Regions from separate parts of the Homo sapiens genome. Here region 1 is linked to region 2. The links are contacts of gene promoters, found by promoter capture Hi-C in human tissues and cell types (Jung and others, 2019). All regions are on one chromosome and are shown on one strand. Each heading gives the region's core, a stretch centred on a gene start or on the middle of the fragment in contact. The rest is flanking DNA. Distances are from core to core; before and after follow the strand shown.

Region 1 (6,515 bases), core at 3,936-6,435, 760 kb after region 2:
TCTGGTGGTGGGAAGAAGGGCTCCTCCTTCTGACCGAAGTTTAATTCTACAACACAATTTTTGCAGAGGACATGGGGTAGAAGGGCCCGGTCTGCCAGGGAATCCTTGCTGATCCAGAATGCCACACCTAGGTCTTCTCCATTCTTGGAGAAGGAAAGTTCTACTTCTTCAGTCTCAAAATTCTACAATGACAAGGGACAAGAGCACTTATTGGCTGACGAGGCTTTGGGTTGATTAAACTTTACAATTTATTCTTTTTTCACACAGACTGCTGCACAAAGTAACTAAGCGAGCCACACACATCACATGCATAAAAGCCAGCAGTTGATGGGAAGCACAAGTGAATTCCCAGTGCCCTCTATCCGCTCCTTGTTATAACCCACAACTTTCAGGAGCACTTACAGCAAAGCAGCCAATAACATCATTCTCCCCAAAAGTCTGGCCAAATTCCTCAAATTGTCCATTTTCTGCCTTGAGTCCTCGTCCATCGAAACCGTAAGAGAATTCATCTTCACCTAGAACAGTCAACAAATTAGTTACCTACAACCGGACTTCCCATAGAGTAAGCAATATGGTAGTAAACACTAATGAGGAACTTAAAGAAATAACTTTACCAAGCTGTGGACGGGAAAAATCAACAGACCACCCAACTCGAAGGAGAGAGACCTCTGTGCAGCCTTCTTTCATTGGGAGATTCTGGGTTACCTGGCCAAGTCAGAAAGGGAACTATTAGATATTGTGACCAACTGAGTAGCAAACTCTGAGTTCGAAGGACAAGATTTTTATACAAACTGAAAACGACATTTACCTCAACTCAACATCAGAATAACAATCACTGAACTTAAAGCCACAGGGATCAATTTCTTGGTTACTGAAACTAAGGTTCTTGTTAAAGCACAGTGCTTTTACCTACCTGCACTAATAAAAGCCTGATTGGACAGAAGTCCAGTATACATAGGTAGTAGCTTAATGAATAAATGAACGGTCTTTTTAAAAAAATATTTCTTCCCCAGCCAGGTGCGGTAGCTCATGCCTGTAATCCCAGCACTTTGGGAGGCCAAGACGGGCGGATCACCTGAGGTCGGGAGTTCAAGACCAGCCCGACCAACATGGAGAAACCCCATCTCTACTAAGAATACAAAATTAGCCAGGTGTGGTGGCGCATGCCTGTAATCCCAGCTCCTCGGGAGGCTGAGGCAGGAGAATCGCTTCAACCCAGGAGGCAGAGGCTGTGGTGAGCCGAGATGGTGCCACTGGACTCCAGCCTGGGTAACAAGAGCGAAACTCCATCTCAAAAAAAAAGAGATAATAATCTTCTTTTCCCCCTCTAAGAACCGTAAGCATCCAGTAATAAATGAATGAATGAATGAATGGTCTTAATGAGCTACCTTTGCCTCAAAGCAGACTTTTCCCTTTGTCACTCCGTAAGTACTCCTTGCCCCAGACCAAAGGGTGGGGAACTTCTCTGAGAAAAGTGGCTGCCCTCCATAGCGGTCTTTGCTCACTTGAAAATGCAGATCCGAGGTATCTGTAAAGAAAGAAGCAATCAGTTTACTCCAATGTCCAATACTTGTAAGCCGCCAACAGAGCATAAGTATACCAGTTGTTGTAGTGGATACAAAGTCTCATAGAATTTATAGGCTATGAAGTTTTAATCTCCAAAATCACTTTTAGGAGATTAGTTAAAAACCACAGTCTGTCTGCCTTATACATACACGTGTCCAGGTTCACAAGAGTTTGATCCTCCTCCTCATCTTTTGCCTCTTCTTCAGGAGGCAGTGGAGACTTTGAGCTATATATGTAAGATAGAAAAGAAACACAATGTAAACAAAGCCCTCTTCTTTGAGGGGTGTGTGTGTATGACATTATGTCCATTTTAAACTGTCAGTGAATATCAAATCCCAGCAGACAGCTTTTTCCAATAAATGAGAAAGGGCAATAGGAGTTTCCATGGTAGATGCAATCTAAAACTCATGCCTATAAAAACCTATTCCATTTTGAATCCACCCTCCTTCCAGTCTCTCCAGTCAATACCAGGTATACCAAAATCAGAGCAGACACTCCCTTCAACGAAAGGGACTGTTTCCCTCACCGGCTGTGGTAAGCCTCCTCTCGGAATTCATAGTAAGCTCGGCCATGTTCATCCTTCTCATCCCGCTGTCTCTTTACCCCCCGCCGCTCACCATCTGAGCCTGCTGGTTTTGACTTTTCACTATCCTGGTCATCTCCTACAAAAACGAGGGAAAGAAAATCAGCAGTTTTCATACTGGAGTGTAGAATAAGCTCACAACTAATAGACACTAACAGGGAATCTGAGAATCTGTCTGATCAAAACAGCCAGGTTATTCCCACTACATTCACATAACATTTTATTTCTAAAGATCAGCTTTCTGTCATTGGCTGTGATTTAATTTTTTTAAAAAGGGGCATTATGGGCTAATTACAGTCAAGCACTAGATAAAAATTGGACAATTTTTGCATTCTAAATTTATCCACTTAAATCAGGTCAAACTTGCAGATTTCCCCATCAATATGACATAAAAAATATCCTCTAGGTCTCTAAGAAAACCTCAAAGGTTAATTTAATTTTGACTCTTGTCAGATCTAGATTTAAGGTAGGCAGTTAGTACATATTTTGTAACACTTTTCCACACCTTCATGATACAGAGAAGCCTCAATTTCTTTTATTTCCCTTTCCTGCACTGAAATACACAGCCATCCATGGCTTTATTCATGTGGCAAATGGACTCAAGTGCATTATACACAGCTGTATTTTTATCAGGGACTTCTACTGAAAGTTGCAAGAGCAAACCACTAAGTCACAAGAGATCCATAAATAATACCGCATCTAGACTGCACATTTGGGGCAGAAAGGTGTTGTTGTATATTTAGCAACTTCTCTGCAAGAGGAAAAAACTTGGAGTTTTTCCCTAGGCTTCTGTATTTTGCAACACTAGGAAGGTTTTTAATAATAATTTCTTTAAAGCAGTCTTTTATCCTTCAATATATATTTTTTTGAGACAGAGTCTCGTTCTGTCGCCCAGGCTGGAGTGTAGTGGCGCGATCTCAGCTCACCGCAACCTCCGCCTCCCGGGTTCAAGCCATTCTCCCGCCTCAGCCTCCCAAGAAGCTGGGATTACCGGCACCCGCCATCACGCCCGGCTAATATTTTGTATTTTTACTAGAGACAGGGGTTTCACCATGTTGACCAGGCTGGTCTCAAACTCCTGACCTCAGGTGATCCACCCGCCTGGCCTCCCAAAGTGCCAGGATTACAGGCGTGAGCCACCACCCCCAGCCTATCCTTCAATTATTTTTTTATCTGCTCTTTGGGATATACATAAGTCAAAGGTTATGTAATGGGATTTTTGCTCCGGGACACAGGACAAACAATCTGCAAGTTGCATGTGATTGTTGTACAATGGGTTCCGATTATACCATGACTCTCCATAGTGGCCTAAAAATATTACTAACAAAAGAACTGAGGCCACCCACTTTATAGTAAGACTTATCCTCCCTACTCGGACACACACTGTTATGGATCAGTTCTAACCATCCAATCACTTCAAAAGAAAGGAGAAAGGTCACTAACTCCCTGGGGCGATTCTACAACACACCTCTTCCACAAGGTTACTCAACGGACCCAACAGCACCTCAGTCATTACCATTCAGGAACCGAGGGACCTGAAACGTAAAAGACTAGCACCAGGTGTTCAGCAAATCTACAAATATGCCTATCCACGGACTCAGTGGGACAATTAAAATTTAATCATAATCCAAGCAAGATAAAAACCCTAGCCAAGTAACGTTAACTAACTCTAAATGAACTAGATTAAGATTTTTCTCTTCACTGGTTAACTATTAAACTCGACACTGTTACACTAGAGGCTCTCCCTTACAGCTCAAAGAGGAGCAAGGTTGGATTTTCAGATTCTCTGTGGCTCAAGCTCTGGTAACATGCTTTTAATGGAACGGACTTTGACGGACTTCGATTTTTGCTTAACATTTTTACGGCGAAAAAGTTAGGTCAGGTAGCCCAAAGACCTGACCCTCTAACTGTGGGCCTAGTTCTCCGTGTAATCCCCAATTGCTTAGCACTTTCTCAGCTAAGAAAAATATAACAAGCACCGTGGGAGACTGTTCCACAGGTAGCTCACAAGTAGTTCGCATGCAAAATCACTCACTGCCATCCACTATCACCAAGGAACCAAGTTAGGCAGGAACCTTCCTCCTGCAAAGAGTAGGGCCACGAGAGGCGGCCTAACCCCTCAGAAAGGTGGGTAGAGAATGAAAGGAGTTCCATCAAATGGCACTTTGAGGCAAGCGAGAACAAGGACTCGGACCCTGCGGTGCAGGGCGGGGTGCTAGATCAGGGGCGCAGCCGGCAGGTTGGAGCCGGGCTCGGCTGCCAGCTCCTCACCCTGTTCCTCGGCGGCCTTGTCACCCGGCACCTCGGATCCCGGCGTCTCGTCCCCGCTCCGCTCCTCGGGTTCGTCTTCCTCCCTCTTGCCGAGGCCCTGCTCTTCGCCACCATTTACCCCGCCTGACCCGGCCGTGGCCTCCGCCGGCTTCTCGGAAGCATCTGGCTCGGCCGCGGCCTCCATGGCTGCCGCCTCCGGGGGCTCCGGCGGCGGCTGCGCGGCCTGACCCAAGGCTTGAGCAGGGGGTGGCTCCTCGTCCTCGTCCTCAAGCAGCGCCTCCTCGTCCTCCTCCTCCTCCTCTTCGTCCTCCTCCTCGTCCCCGCCCGGGCCGCCGCCCGACGCGGCCACAGGCCGAGGCTCCGCCTTGCAGGCCCCGCCGGGCCCGGCCCCGCCGCCGCCGGCCTCGTCCTCGAGCATCTCGGCGTCCAGCGCCTCCTGCAGCCGCTGCGCCAGATCCACCTTGAGGCCGCGCGAGTCCAGGCCCCGCCGCTGCAGCTCCGACCGCAGCTCGGTCACTTTCAGCCGCTTCACCTCCATCGCCGCCGCCGCCTCCTCCGCCTCCCGCCGCCTCCTCCCCTGCGAACCGTCGACCGAGTCCGACCGCGCAGGCGCCGCCGCCGCCGCCCGCCTCCGCCTCACGCGCCAGCACTGAGCCCGCGCGAGCGAGCGCACGCACGCAGGAGCGGAGGCCGCGCACGGTCCCGCTGCGCAGTGTTTGCTTCTCCTTCGTCTCCCCTCCCCCTTTCGGCTCACGGAGCCCAAAACAACGCAGCAGGGAGCTGTTTCCCCTCCAGGCCCTTGGTTCCCCAGCCGCGGGCAGGCGCGCGCGGAGGACGACGGAGTTCCTCCCGCTTCCTCCCGCCCTCTGGCGCCCCCGGGCCAATCGCCGCCGGTGCTTTTATCGCGCAGCCGCAGTGGAGTCCAAGACGGGCAAGGCTGGCTGCAGCTCAAGTGCCTCGTAGCACGGAAGCGTGTGCGCGCCGGTCTTTCAGTACTTCCAGCCGGGGAGTTCTGCGCAGCCGCCCGGAGCTCCCCGATGCCATGCCCCTCCCACCACCCTTACTTCCGTCTGACTTCCATTTGCTGTGGCGTTTTAGGGGTCGCTAGCCTCTTTTCCCTACTGTCTGTGCTTGCAGCAGTAACGACAAAAAAAAAGTCATTAGAGAATGTGTTGCAACATGTAAGCCTAGTAGCAATTGTTTTTCTGGCTAGGAAGCAAAAGGGCTCCCCAGAACGAAGAAATACTGTAATCCGGGCCCTCCTTTTTCCTCAACGCCTCAACTTCTACCCAGCAACAGAGGCCCTTGAACCCGCCCTTTTTCTCTTATTGGACAACTTGAATCGTCATTTGCCGTTCCGATTGGTCATCCGTGATCGTCCGGATTTTTCCAATTGGCGAAGCTGCCAGGGGAATTTTTTTTTTTTTTTTTTCCCAGGTTGGTCCGCTGAGGAGGCGGGGTCGTTTCTGCGGGATTATTTTTCCGGAGCCTCTTCTGATTGGGTGGTGTGGCGCAATGCGCGCGACCCTCAAGATACCAAACTGTACGCATCTCTGACCCTTTCCTCTCCTTGCTCCTGCTGGTAAACCGAAGCCCAGGAGACTTCCAGGTTTGGGCATCTGCAGAGGGCGAGGAACTGGTCACGGCGCCGGGTGGGCTTGCAGCTGTGACGCTTATGTGGACACCTCAGTGTCGCTGGTGGTTCACCTCGGCTTCCCAGTTTATTTATTGACGTCAACAAATAAATGTTGAATAAGGAAGAAGAGTTAGAATTGCTTGAAGCCCTCTGGAGTTTTAGCACTAGTCCCGCCCACTCCCTTCTACTTCCAGGTCGGGGGGGGGCGGGTCCAATAGAAAGGCGGAAGCCAGTGTCCCAGGCGTTCTCACGCCCGCAACAATTCCTGAGTAGGGCCTTGCTTGAGTTCTTCGGAAAGTCTCATCCACCCCCACATCGCCTCTTTAGGAAGTCACTTAATGTTGGGCTTCATTATTCCCACATCCCTTTCCTTACTACTTGCCTGCACTTCTTGAGAAAAAGACTGCAGAAAGGAGAGGTGGGGCTTTCAGTAGAAACAAGCAAACCGCAGGTCCCTGT
Region 2 (6,129 bases), core at 231-2,730:
ATTCCAGCTACTCAGGAGCCTGAGGTAAGAGAATCACTTGAACCCAGGAGGCGGAGGCTGCAGTGAGCCGAGATCGCGCCACTGCACTCCAGCCTGGGCGACAGAGCGAGACTCTGTCTCTCACACACACACACAAATTAAAAACCCCCATGCAAGGTGGCAAATGTGGACAGTATGTTGATGTAAACATACTTTTATAATAGTTATATCACAAAAATTTGATTTTCAGTTTTAGACATTTGATGTAGTCAAGTGTTTGTGAAAGGCAGTGACAGTCACAGAAATACAGGCCTGTTTTCAAATCCATTTGGAACACATTTATTCTTGGGATAGTTTGGACAATCACAAGGCAATTCTAAGGAAGACTCCCACGACACTGCCTAAGACCAAGATTTGGGAAAACTGATTCCACTGATCACTGAAAAATTTCTTGCCCAGTAACTGTCGGTGGACTTTATCCAAGAACTGGGGGTTCAATTAGTAGGCCAAACTCCACACCTCTTACAGTAAGATACATAAAAGATAAATTAGGTCCCCTAGGCGCAAGGTCAGGTGACACTTCGGTGACTGCAGAAGGGGCGATTCCTAGAGATATGCTTCAAAGCAAGTGGGACTTAGAGATAAGCAGAGCCGAGAGGTGGATACGGCTGCTCGAGAGGGATCTACCCACAAGATAAGCCACCTCCCGCCAGCCCCCAAGGTTTGCTATTCGACACCGTTACCCAGCAGCTCCGCCACACACAGGCGGACGGGAGCTGGATACCTAAGCAAAAAACGCTGGCATTTAGGGCCAAATGCCGGAGGCAGAGGAAAAGATGGGAAAGCAAAACTCCACCTTCCTAACCGCAGGATTGATCACACAGGCTGGCAGTCTTGCAACCCCAGGATTTCAGGACACCAAGGTCTCCTTAAAAAAGAAGGGTGTGCAGAGGCGGCCCTGGCCTAGGAGGGAGCATTCTCAGGGTACAGCCGAGAAGAACCAGCTGCCCCGACTTTCTGCGCCAGAGAAGTCCTCGGAAACCTCGAGCAGCCTCCATTTTCCAGAAGGGCGCAGGGAGGCGGGAGAGCCCGCGGGTGGCCACACCCCCGGCCCGCCCCAGCGCGCGCCCCGGGAACCGCGCCCGGCCCCCGCCACCGCTTAGGCCCGCCCGCGCTCACCATGGACAGGTAAACGTAGGAGGCGTAGAGCTCCAGGTTGATCTGGCGGTTGATGGCGGCCTCTGAGTCCTGGTGGTAGTTCTGGCGCACCTGCGAGGTGGACGCGGTCGTCATGGCGGCGACTAAGGAGAGGCGGCGGCGGCGGCGGTGGCTGCGCGGCGCTGGAGCGGCGGCGGGGGCCTTGGGGCAGTCCGAGGGTGCGGTGAAGAGGTGACGGAGGGCTGGCTATGGGCGGCCGGCCGGGGTGGGGAACGAGCGCCGGGTTCCGTCCAAGCACTGTTGAAGCAGGAAACCCCGACGACTCTCGGCGAAGAACGTCTGGCCCTGCGGGTCGCTTGTGGTCTCTTATAGCCGCGTCGGCGTCAGGCCCGCCCCGGCCAATCAGCGCCGCCCGCCCCGAGCCCGCTCCTTCCGGTGGGCGCGGGACCCCGCCCCTGCTGTGGGGGAGGGGCGGCCGCTGGAGGCCCTCGCGCGCTCTGGCGGAGCTCGGGAGCGGGGACCGGTAGCCGACTGCCTCTGGGACAGCGGTGGCGTCTCTGTGCCCGTTTAGTGGAGTTGGAGGGAAGCTGCGAGGAGGCGCAGGAAGTCCACCTCAGAACCCCCCCCCCGGTCTAGGGGCGCCCGGGCGTTGGAACCGGCGGGGGAAGGGTGCGGGGGCGCATGGGGTGATCCTGATTCGGCTCCCATTTTCCCGAACGGGCACCCTGAGGCTCCTGGCCCGGGGCATGGTGTTAGAAATCATAGCTGCGGAGAAGCCCTTGTGACACCTTGCTGCAGATTGGGAAGCTGCAGATGATTGGGAAGGTGGAAGGTGGAGACGCGGTCCTTAGGTGGTCGAGCGCATTTTCTCTTCCTCAGAGTCCAGGAAGGAGCGCGATGGAGAAGTGGGGCGCACGGCGGGTTTCGGGTCCGCCCCTGCCCTTCCGACTCCTCCGACCACGTCTGCCTTTGGCTGAAAGCAAATATGGCTCCGTGTGCGGTTTCTGCAACAAAGGCTGGGCGGGCCGGGTTTCCCTAGGGATGGGGACCGCCTCCCCGGGGAGTCGTGGGGGTGAGCCACCGGGGCCTCCGAGAGAATCGCTGGTGTCGCTTCGCACCCAAGGGACACATCTCGGGTTAGAAAGGAGAAACGACGTGGATCTAAAGGCGAAGCCCATGCTGAGGACTTTTCAAAATGGCCTCTTATCGGCCCCACTCACAGGAGCTTCAGGCTTCGGTGGCCCTGTAGGACAACCCTGGGGTGTCATTGGAGAGAAGCTGACGGGGTTAATGGCGGGTGACAGGTGAAAGAGACCCCGGAGGGGTGGGGCCGGTGTGTGTGGCTAAGCTGAGTCCCAGGCACAGGGTGGATGTGAATTTATGGGTGGCAGAGCTAGAGCTAGGCCCTGCCCTTACCTAGGTCCTGGCTTCGAGGTCCACTGTTCTGTCGCGTCTTTTGACGCATCGGTGGAAGAACTGAATTTCAGGATGCTCACAAACCTGCAGCTGGAAGCTAGACTTCCAAACCTTAGTTTAAAAAAGCAACTCTACTGAAATACTAAAATAAATTGCCGACGGAATTAGGGTGATTTCTTGTTCACGGTTTCATTTAAAAATGCACCTATGTTATTTACAGGAAAAACGTTTTAGTGGTGCTAGAGCTACAAGAATAAGGTAAACAGAAGGATGCTGCTAGACCAGGAGTACCTTACCCAGTCTGGGATAGGAGGAGGTCGGGGAAGCCCTCCCTAAGCAAGACACGTGAGCTGAGTTTGAAGAAAAAGTTAAAAGGAAGGTGAAGTGCGGGAGAGAAACAGGGAAGGGAATTTGGAGCAGAGTGAACAGCATATGCAAAGGTGTGGAAATGTGGAAATGCATGGCCTGTTAAAGCTGCCTTAAGAAAATATGTTGCCTGGGGCTGGGCGCGGTGGCTCATGCCTGTAATCCCAGCATTTTGGGAGGCCGAGGCGGGCGGATCACTTGAGGTCGGAGTTGGAGATCAGCCTGGCTAACTAACATGGCTAAACCCTTCTCTACTGAAAATACAAAAATTAGCCGGGCGTGGTGGCATGCGCCTGTAATCCTAGCTATTCTGGAGGCTGAGGCAGGAGAATCGCTTGAACCTGGGAGGCGGAGGTTGCAGTGAGCCGAGATCGCGCCTTTGCACTCCAGCCTGGAAGACAAAACAAAACTCCGTCTCAAAAAAAAAAAAAAAAAAGAAAGAAAGAAAGAATGTTGGCCTGGAAAGTACAGTTTATGTTGGGGGATGCTGGTTAGGGTGGAGAATAGGGGCAAGATCGGGCAGGGTTGTGTTCCATAAAAAGAGGTTAAACTTGATCCTAGAGACAGCATAGAGACACCTCATTAGCTTTGTTTTTAGAAACCTTACACTGGGAATCTCTTAGGATAAGAGTATAGCAAAGTCACCATATATAGGATCCAAAGCTTTCCTTTATAACAGTAACCACCAGTTAGAAAATATGGGGAAAAAAGAATGGAAAAAAAAATGTTTTTCACTTACATTGACAACAAAAGCTTAAAGTACCTTGGAATAAAGTTAACAAGAAATATATAGAAAAAACTATAAATGCTTACTGCTGGACAAAAAATTCAAAAAGCCTAGCATAAATGAAGAGGTACCATATTCCCAAATGGTCGGTCAATCTTCATTCTGTAAAGATGTCAGTTTCCCCAAATAAGCATAAATTCACTGCAATTTCCATAAGAGGCAGTTTTTTGTTTTTGTTTTTCCTCAGCCATTACTGTCTCTGGGACAGTATTTTTTTTTTTTTTGAAACTTCACAAAATGATTCTAAAGTTCATTTGGAGGAGTCAGTGTGTTGATAGATTTGCATTTGGTGCTATAATAAAGGTACAGTAAAGTGCTATAAGCAGTATGGTACTGGCACAGGAAGAGATGACTAGATTAATGCAACAAAATAGTCCTGCCCCCCTATTATGAGAACTTGGTATATGCTAAACTGTTGTGTCACATTAGGGAAGAAAGAATGGGTTTAACAAATTATGTTGAAACAATTGACAGTCATGTGGAGAAAAGTGACTCACTCAGTATTTAAAAATACATTCCAGATAGATTAAAAATCCAAGCCTTAAAAAAAGTATAAAGTTTTGAGAAGAATATATACAAGATTATTTTTATAATTTTGGGGTAGGGAATGTTCTTCTGAGGCTGTCAGAAGCCGTAAAAGTACAGTTGGCAGGTTTGCCTATTTAAAAATGAAAAGCTGTAAGACAAAAGATGTTGTAAACAAGGTTAAAACAGAGATGACAAATTGGGATGATATTTGTAGCTCATGTAAGTGATGAAGATTAGGAACTATAATATATATTTGTATGTTTAATGAAGTACTATGTATGTGTCACACCTTTTTTTTTGAGATGGAGTTTTGCCCTTGTTGCCCAGGCTGGAGTGCAGTGGCTTGATCTCGGCTCACTGCAACCTCCACCTCCCGGGTTCAAGAGATCCTCCTGCCACAGCCTCCCAAGTAGCTGGGACTACAGGTGCCTACCACCACACCTGGCTGATTTTTGTGTTTTTAATAGAGACGGGGTTTCACCATGTTGGCCAGGCTGGTCTCGAACTCCTGACCTCAAGTGATCCACCTGCCTCGGCCTCCCAAAGTGCTGGGATTACAGGCATGACCCACCGCACCTGGCCTTATGAGACCCTTTTGATTGCCTGCGCTGGTGCTGTAGATGGTAAGCTCCTGGAAGGCAGGCATTGTTTCTGTCTTGTCTCTGCACTCCCAGCTTTTTGCAAATTGCTTGTTACTTGGTGCCCAGTATCTGTTGCATGAACAGATGGATTCATGATTGAATGTGGAGGATGGATGAGAGTGAGGCTAGAGGGCTGGGCACCAGTCAGGAGGCAGCAGCCTTAGTTATTAGTGAGCAGAGAAGATAGAACACAGATTTGACAGATCTGGAGAAGATCAAATGAACAGACTGATTGGCGAAAGTCGGGGGCCAGGGGTGGGCAGTGTGTAAGAGATCTCTCAGCTTTATGATTTGGTAGGCCTGGCTGCTGCTGCCATTCCCTGAGCCAAGGAGCACAGGAGGAAATGAAGGTTTCGGGGAAAGCCCTTGGGGAAGGCCTGCTTGGTTTTGGACTAGATGTGCTGAGTTTCCAGGCTTCCGGGATGTCCAGGGGGACAAAGCCAGCATGAAGCTCTCGGACCCACTGGAGGGAAGTCGGTCTGCTGCAGGGAGTAGGTTTCCTGAATCAGTGTTGGCTCCATGCTTGGCTAAACATGCATGTAGCTGCAGTGAACATCGCAGCAAGACTGAGGGACAGCTTGTGCTGTAGAAGGTCATTGGGAGGAGGCTGGCTGGGAACAATGGAAGGGAAATCTATTGGTGGGGGAGTGTGAGTGTGTGTGTGTGTTTATGATTGTTTATATGATTGCTTGTGTCCGTTCCCTACTTTCTGGTAACTTGAGGTGTCAGAACTGCAATGTCTAAGCCTTTAGATTCTTCCGAAGCTGTGGCCTGGTCTTGGGACCTTTGTTGACCAGGGTTCTACCTCCCCCACCCTCCAGCTCAGCTCCTCGTGACTTGGAGGCAGCAGAGAGTTTGGCTGGTCTCCCAGGACAGCCGCCTCCCAGGGCCAGGAGTGGCGGGAGGGACCTCAGATGAGAGAAGAGCCAAGCCGGTGGTTTCTGGAGGTTCAGCACATCCTGGAGCAGGAGGGGGCGGTGGTGGGGGTTGCGGTGGAGAGTTGCTGTCCCACCGTGACTCAGCACTCTGCTAGGCTGGGCTTGGGCTCAAAAAGTGCTTTGTCATGGAGGAGAAGAGCAGTCATAAGACCTGGAGGGCTGTGGCTTCACTGTGGAGGGAGGGAGGGAGGGAGGGAGGGAGGGAGGGAGAGTGTCCCCCTCCCCCCATTTCCTAATGGGACAAAGTCCAGAGGCCGGACTGGGAACAAAGGGGTCTGAGATCACTCAGGGGGGCCTCTGATGGTGTTTTTGCTGG

The links. Contacts are between HindIII fragments. The study calls those that stand out against the background at their distance.
Region 1: the fragment with the promoter of HNRNPUL2-BSCL2 here is called in contact with the fragment with the promoter of FTH1 in region 2 in 1 of the 25 tissues and cell types used here (heart left ventricle).

What each region holds. Positions count from the first base shown.
Region 1 is chr11:62,722,199-62,728,713 of GRCh38, forward strand. HNRNPUL2-BSCL2 (HNRNPUL2-BSCL2 readthrough (NMD candidate)) reads right to left here and starts at 5,186. Exons shown (of 24, transcript NR_037946.1): 1 at 4,421-5,186; 2 at 2,093-2,228; 3 at 1,716-1,792; 4 at 1,389-1,528; 5 at 615-705; 6 at 403-515; 7 at 1-182. It overlaps HNRNPUL2 (heterogeneous nuclear ribonucleoprotein U like 2), which reads right to left and starts at 5,259. Exons shown (of 14, transcript NM_001079559.3): 1 at 4,421-5,259; 2 at 2,093-2,228; 3 at 1,716-1,792; 4 at 1,389-1,528; 5 at 615-705; 6 at 403-515; 7 at 1-182. The coding sequence starts at 4,958. It overlaps TTC9C (tetratricopeptide repeat domain 9C), which reads left to right and starts at 6,288. Exons shown (of 3, transcript NM_173810.4): 1 at 6,288-6,515. RefSeq lists silencers at 4,700-5,079, 5,250-5,409 and enhancers at 5,670-5,719, 5,970-6,169. The HindIII fragment of the contact is 23,424 bases long and covers 1-6,515 here.
Region 2 is chr11:61,966,154-61,972,282 of GRCh38, forward strand. FTH1 (ferritin heavy chain 1) reads right to left here and starts at 1,481. Exons shown (of 4, transcript NM_002032.3): 1 at 1,159-1,481. The coding sequence starts at 1,272. LOC399900 (a long non-coding RNA gene) reads left to right here and starts at 1,141. Exons shown (of 1, transcript NR_187560.1): 1 at 1,141-2,726. RefSeq lists silencers at 1,008-1,207, 1,478-1,827, enhancers at 2,348-2,417, 2,538-2,587, 5,724-6,018, 5,822-5,966 and cis regulatory regions at 5,453-6,129, 5,458-5,969, 5,889-5,899. The HindIII fragment of the contact is 11,433 bases long and covers 1-6,129 here.